Regions from separate parts of the Homo sapiens genome. Here region 1 is linked to region 2. Evidence: promoter capture Hi-C in human tissues and cell types (Jung and others, 2019). All regions are on one chromosome and are shown on one strand. The core of a region is centred on a gene start or on the middle of the fragment in contact, and the rest is flanking DNA. Distances in the headings are between cores, read along the strand shown.

Region 1 (2,936 bases), core at 171-2,670, 710 kb after region 2:
CACCTGACCCGGAGGGACGCAGAGATGCGCACGGTCCCGGCCTGCCCTTCCCTCTCACGCGGGCTAGGGCTTGGAGGCCTGGCCCAAGTCACTTACTTACACCCAAAGCCAACTGGTCTGTCACTTTGCCCTGGGGTGGTGGTGGCTCCGCAGACTGGCCCAGCCCAGGCCGGAGCTCTCCTCCTCTCTTCCCCGCCCTGGGCTGGCCGAGGCTCGGGGCACTCACTGCTGGAGAGGTGGCCCTAACCCAACTAGTCCAGCACTGGGGTCCCGCAGCCAAATGCGACCACCCCACTGACAAACTTTTTTACAAAGGAGAGAGATGGACCGACATCCCCTCATTTCTTTCCTTGCTGCCCACAATCCTGATTTGCTGCTTATTTAAGAATATATCCTTTAGTGATTTAGCTTTGAGTCTATCAATATTTTATAGCAGAGAAGGGAGTGACACTTCTCTGAGAACATAATTTAATTATAATAAATGGGTTGGGTGCTTCAGCCCCATCCTTCAGAGGCCGAGTCAGAGCGGATGTATTTATCTTTATTCGAGCGTGTAAGGGGGTGGGGGCGGATCGGCCCCACCCCAAAGTTACTTTTCCCCTCCTGTCCCCATCCCTCTCTCCTCCTCTGCGCCCGGGCTTTATGGGGATGGGGGTCGGGGAGCCTCCGCAGCCCCCCCCACCTCTGTCTTTGTAGATAGGGCGACTGCCAGTCAATCAGAGAGGGCATTAGTTACGCCTCTTTATTGACAGGGTGCTACATTCTGTAGTTCTTCTCTTTCGGGATCGCCCTCCTCCTCCTCCTCCTCCTCCTTCCTCCTCTCCCGCCGCCTGCAGCCGGAGAGGAGGAGATGAGAAGCCTTGTAGTTTTAAATTCAATGTGACAGTTTCGGAAAAGCGGATGATGAATCTCCTATTATTGGATCAGTCTATTTGCCGCTCAATGTCTCTCTGTAATTGGAGCAACATCACTTTAAAGGTTCAGAGAGTACAGCATTTCTGGTGAAAAATCCCCACAACACGGCGCTGAATGTTTTAAAGGGAAATCTATTAGTGATTTGCGGAGGGGCGGGGAGGCGGCGGCTGGCGGGAGGCGCGGGCTCGGGGCCGGCCCCGAGTGAAGTGGGGGGCTAGCTGGGGGCCCCTGCCCCGGGCCCAGGCACCAGCCCGCGCCTGCCCGGCCCTGGGCGGCCCCTCCCTCCCTCCCTCCCTCCCTCCGGCTCCCCCCGCCCCCAGCCCGTCTTGTTGTGACAGTTCCTGATACTGTTTATTGAGGTGCATGTCAGGTATAATTAGCAATCGATATGGAAAACGTTTCCCTGCACCCAGCACGCCTCTGACGTCAGAGCCGATTAGCGCTTCTTATTGGTCCCAAATTCCCCGGGCCGCGGCTAATTATCGGGAGCTTGATGTTGATAAGTAAAGCGCCGGAGTGCGGGCGAAGCATGTGTGGGGCTCCGGGTCCCTGTCTCCGCCGCCGCCGCCCGCGCCTCCCGCCGCTGGCCCGCCCCGGCCCCGGCCCGCGCCCCCGCGCCCCGCCACCGGCCCCGCCGGCCCCCCGCGCGAGATGATGGACGGCCGCCTCCTGGAACACCCGCATGCCCAGTTCGGGGGCTCGCTGGGCGGCGTGGTGGGCTTCCCCTACCCGCTGGGCCACCACCACGTGTACGAGCTGGCCGGGCACCAGCTGCAGTCGGCCGCCGCCGCCGCCTCGGTGCCCTTCTCCATCGACGGCCTGCTCGGGGGCTCGTGCGCCGCCGCCGCCTCGGTGGTCAACCCCACGCCGCTGCTGCCAGCCGCCTGCGGGGTCGGCGGGGACGGCCAGCCCTTCAAGCTGTCAGGTAGGCGCGGCGGGCGGGAGGGCGGGGAGGAGTGCGGCTGGGGGCGGGGGCCCTGGTCCGGCCGAGGCGCTGGGGGGCCCGGGGCTGGCGAAGGAGAGCCGGCTCCTAGGCGGCCGTCTCTGCGCCCCCCCCCCCGGATCCAGGCGGCCAGCGGGTAGCGGGAGGGAGGGGTGGGGGTCGGGCCTGGGCCGGTGGCTGAGCCGCGCTGCGTCCTGTGACTGCCCGCAGACTCGGGGGACCCGGACAAGGAGAGCCCGGGCTGCAAGCGGCGGCGCACCCGCACCAACTTCACCGGCTGGCAGCTGGAGGAGCTGGAGAAGGCGTTCAACGAGAGCCACTATCCCGACGTGTTCATGCGCGAGGCGCTGGCGCTGCGCCTAGACCTGGTCGAGTCCCGAGTTCAGGTAAAGACCCGGCGTCGCTCCCGGATCTGCCATCCGGACCCCAGGCTCTGGGCGCGCCGGGACGCCTTTGTTCCAGGTGGCGAGATATCGTCCCCTTGCCGCGGGCCCGCTTCGCGCTCGCCTGCTGGGGAAGAGTGGAGGGGTGGGGGTTCTGGGGCTCGGCCCCTCACGGACAGCGGGGTGGGTAACTGCCCCCCAAAAGCCTGGGCGGCTTGAGAAGGGCCGGCGGCAGCACCCGAGTCACCAGAACAGCGGCTGCGTCCGAACCGGGAAGCGGCGTGGTGGGTTGGCGGAGGCCGGGCCAAGTGAGGTCTCCAGGCAGGGGCGAGGAGGGGAGGAGGGGCCGGCTTGGCTCCGACCCGGAGGAGAGAGGGAAGGGGACCCCCCCCCGCCCCCGCACCGCCTCAACCTTCCGCGCGAGGCTCTGTCACCCAGCCTGGAGCGAACGAGTCTGTTTACCTTGCGCCTGCAAAATATTCAGATGGAAACATGTATTTATTCATCGCTTTGCAGAAGGGAACAGCTGAGGAAGGGGAGGCAGAAGCTTAAACAGTTAACACATTGAGAAAGTGGGAGAAAAAAAGGTGTCTGAATTTTTAATAATAACCCCGGTCTCATCTTTTTCTTACGACTGTTTTCCCGTAAATTTGCTATCATTTGGAGATGGCTGATGGTATTGTTTTAAAAATACA
Region 2 (3,073 bases), core at 514-3,013:
CCTAGCGCCGACTAAGACGCCCAAATCCAGCCGGCGGCCGGGAGAAGAAGCCTCCAGGGAAAGCGAGGGTTAAACTTCCACCTCGCGCAGCTCTCCGTGCCCTGCGGAGACCACCCTCACCTCTGGCCTCCCCCACTCCCCTCCCCGATTTTTAAGGAGAGTCGGGGGTCGCTGGGGAGCCTGAAGCACTAAGTTCCCACGACGGGGGCTGTGGAAAGTCATTCATCACAGCAAAGCTCCCGGGGATGGGGATGGGGATGGGGATGGGGGGGCGGGGACGCCGCGGTGGGAGGGTGCGGACGCCTGGCCCAGCCCCAGCTCGCCTCGCTCAGCCACCTGTAAGCAGGCCCGGGCGGGCGGGACTGCGCCGGCCCTGAGCCCCGCCGGGCTTGGGGACTGGGAACCGAGGGCTGCAGCTTGGCGCTGCCCACCCTGCCCGGCCAGGGGCTTCCGCAGCAGCCGCCCCTACCTATTTATCCGCCGCCCTTCTCTCCTCCCCAGGCTCCGCCGGCTCACACACACCCCCTTCCCCGCTCCCCGCACCCCGCTGCTGCAGCGCCCGCTGCGCCCCAGCTCCCCTTCCCCGGAGAGGACACTGCGCCCCCCGAAGTTTCTGCCCACTCGTCCACCTCGCTGCTCCCCGGTCCCCCCGAGGCAGAGCGACCGACGCAACACGCTGGAAACTCCCCACACACACTTAGGCATGGCAGAAAATAGAACCCAGTTGGGAAAATCTAAACATCGACCACCCTGGCAGGAACCAAAACGCTCTCTGCAGAGCCCGTGGCGCCCCAGCCGGCGGGGGGTGTGCGCCGGAGGAGCCGGCGCAGGGACGGGGCGCGGGGGCGGCACCAACCTCGGCCAGAACATGGGCGAGGTATCCGCAGCCGAGGAGCAGCAGGCAAGCCAAGGTCCTCATCGCGTCCCGAGGCGCTGGCTGCTCGGAGGAGAGGCGAGGCCGCGGGGCGGGCGCTCCAGCCGGTCTCCTGTGGCGGCGAAATTCAGTACCATCCCTTAGGGAGCGCGGCCCGGAGGAGGGTGGCGCGGGGAGCACGGAGCTGGCGGAGCGCGCCCGGCGCGAGCAGTGAGTGCGGAGAGGCAGGCAGCGCCAGCCAGGAGGAGGAGAAACAGGGAGTGCGCGCCCGCAGCGCGGGGAGCCTCCTGGGCCGCCGGGTAGGGGGTGGGGACGGAAGGGGCGGAGGGCGGGGGCTGGGCTTCTTCCTCGGTGCGTTCCCGGTGCTGGCCGCCGCCGCGCTCGCTCCCCGCGCTGGCTTCAGGAGCGACCCGGCCGGTAATTCTGCATATTTGCGGACATCAGCCCCAAGAAGAACTCCGGAGGGAGTCTGGGGCCGCCGCCGCCGCCGCCGCCACACCGATCACCTGCCTGGACGCCTGGCCCGGCCCCGGCTGCGAGCTGCGAGCCGCCCTGCGCGCCCACCGCCGGCCCCGCGCTCGCCTCCGGCCTCCTCTTGCAGCCGCCGCCCGGCCGGGCACAGCGCGGCCCAGCACCCCCTCCGCGGCGCGCCCTCGGCTCCGGCGCCGCGCTCCGCCCTCCGCTCGCCGGGGCCGGGCAGCGCCCGCGGCCGAGCCGCCTGGCAGCCACCACCCGCCGCCCGGGGCCTCGCTGCGCCGCCCGCGCGGGCCTGAGGGCGGGCGCAAGGCCGAGTCGGCGCCTCCGCCGCAGCCGCCGCCGGGAGAGGAGGAGGAGGAGTAGGCGCAGGCCCGGCTCGCCGGAGTTGGGCGGGCTCCGCAGGGCGCGCGTGTGGAGCCGGCCGGCGGCGGGGAGAGGGTTATAGCGCCGCCGCCGCGCCCCTCCCCCGCCCCCGCCCCCGCCCCCCCCCCCCGCCTCCCCCGGATTCCGGGCCTGGGACCCGCACCTCGGAAGCGCTCGGGGTTCGTGCGGACCCGGCAGGGCCCGGGCGCCGCCGCCGCGGCAGGGAGCACACACGCGCTCGCGCAAGCAGCTAAATCCATCAAAGCCCCGCGCCCGGCTCCGCGCCGGGGCTCCGCGCCCCTCCCTCGAGCTTGCCCACCCTCCAGTGCCAGCTGCAATCCTGCGGCACCGGGTGGGGAGGGAGGAGGCCGCCGCAGAAGCGCCGCCGTCGCCGGCTCGCCTCTCTCGGGCCCCAGCGGCGGCAGCGGGCAGCGCCCAGAGCTGCTGCGCCAAAAAGGGCCAGAGAGCCGGTCCCCGCCCCCGCCCCGGCGCTCCGGCCGCTCTCCACGGTTCGGATCCAGGGCCCCAGCCTTCCTCTCTCCATAAAAGGAGGGGGAGTCAGTCTTTGGGGAAGGAGGGGGGCGGGTTTGGGGCACTCACCTGGCGGCTGCCACGCGCCCCCGCCCAGGATCCGAGGCCTGGGGCATCTGAATGAGGACCCTCCACCCACATTTCCACTTGGGAGCGAGCTCCAGTCGGGGAAAGGGCCTGCAGCCCGCCTCGTCCCCACCCTGGGACCCCGCGCCCCCCAGTCCCCCACTCCCGCGCCGAAGGCAGGGCCGCGCCCTGAGCCGGGAAGTCGAGGGGATGGAAGGGAAAGGAGCCACCGGTGAGGGTCCCCCGGGTTCTGAGCCTCCCGCGTCGGGATCCGTGGGGCGCACAGAGCGCCACCTCCGGCCGAGGCGCAGCTCAGAGCGCGATGCGGGGGAGGAACGCGCGCGGAGGCCGAGGTCTGAGCGTGGCTAGACGGCTCCCACGCCGAGAAAGGGCGGGTGCGCCTGGGCTGGATGGATTTCGCCTCCCTAGACCAGGAGGGATTGGACCCTGACTACAGGTCCAGGTGCTCGTCAGTGCCCTGCCAGGGGGTCTACGCGTCCTGGTACCGGGTCCAGCGGGGTGGCGTGCTGTGCAGACCCCGAGGCTAGACGGCCTAGGCCCCTGGAGCCCAGGAGACGCTTCCTTGGGTGAGCAGCGGAGAATCCCGCCCGGCCCAGCCGTCACCCCCAACCCTGTCGATTAAACCCCTGCCCCCGTCGCGGTCGCCCTCCCTCCAGACAAAGGCCGTTAAGGCGCAGCCCCGCGGGCGGTCTTTCATCCCCAGCTAGGCCAGCTCTAGCATTTCAAAGGCCGAATCCGGAG

Evidence for each region. The method cuts DNA at HindIII sites, captures the fragments that hold promoters and counts their contacts. A contact is called where the count stands out against the background at its distance.
Region 1: a contact is called between the fragment with the promoter of UNCX here and the fragment with the promoter of PDGFA in region 2, in 1 of the 25 tissues and cell types used here (stomach).

Annotation. Positions count from the first base shown.
Region 1 is chr7:1,231,452-1,234,387 of GRCh38, forward strand. UNCX (UNC homeobox) reads left to right here and starts at 1,421. Exons shown (of 3, transcript NM_001080461.3): 1 at 1,421-1,840; 2 at 2,069-2,244. The coding sequence starts at 1,567. RefSeq lists an enhancer at 2,426-2,936. The HindIII fragment of the contact is 11,886 bases long and covers 1-2,936 here.
Region 2 is chr7:518,083-521,155 of GRCh38, forward strand. It overlaps PDGFA (platelet derived growth factor subunit A), which reads right to left and starts at 1,764. Exons shown (of 6, transcript NM_033023.5): 1 at 857-1,764. The coding sequence starts at 919. It overlaps PDGFA-DT (PDGFA divergent transcript), which reads left to right and starts at 2,309. Exons shown (of 3, transcript NR_033963.1): 1 at 2,309-3,073. RefSeq lists an enhancer at 556-1,477 and silencers at 734-823, 1,284-1,423, 1,704-1,793, 1,894-2,233. The HindIII fragment of the contact is 45,371 bases long and covers 1-3,073 here.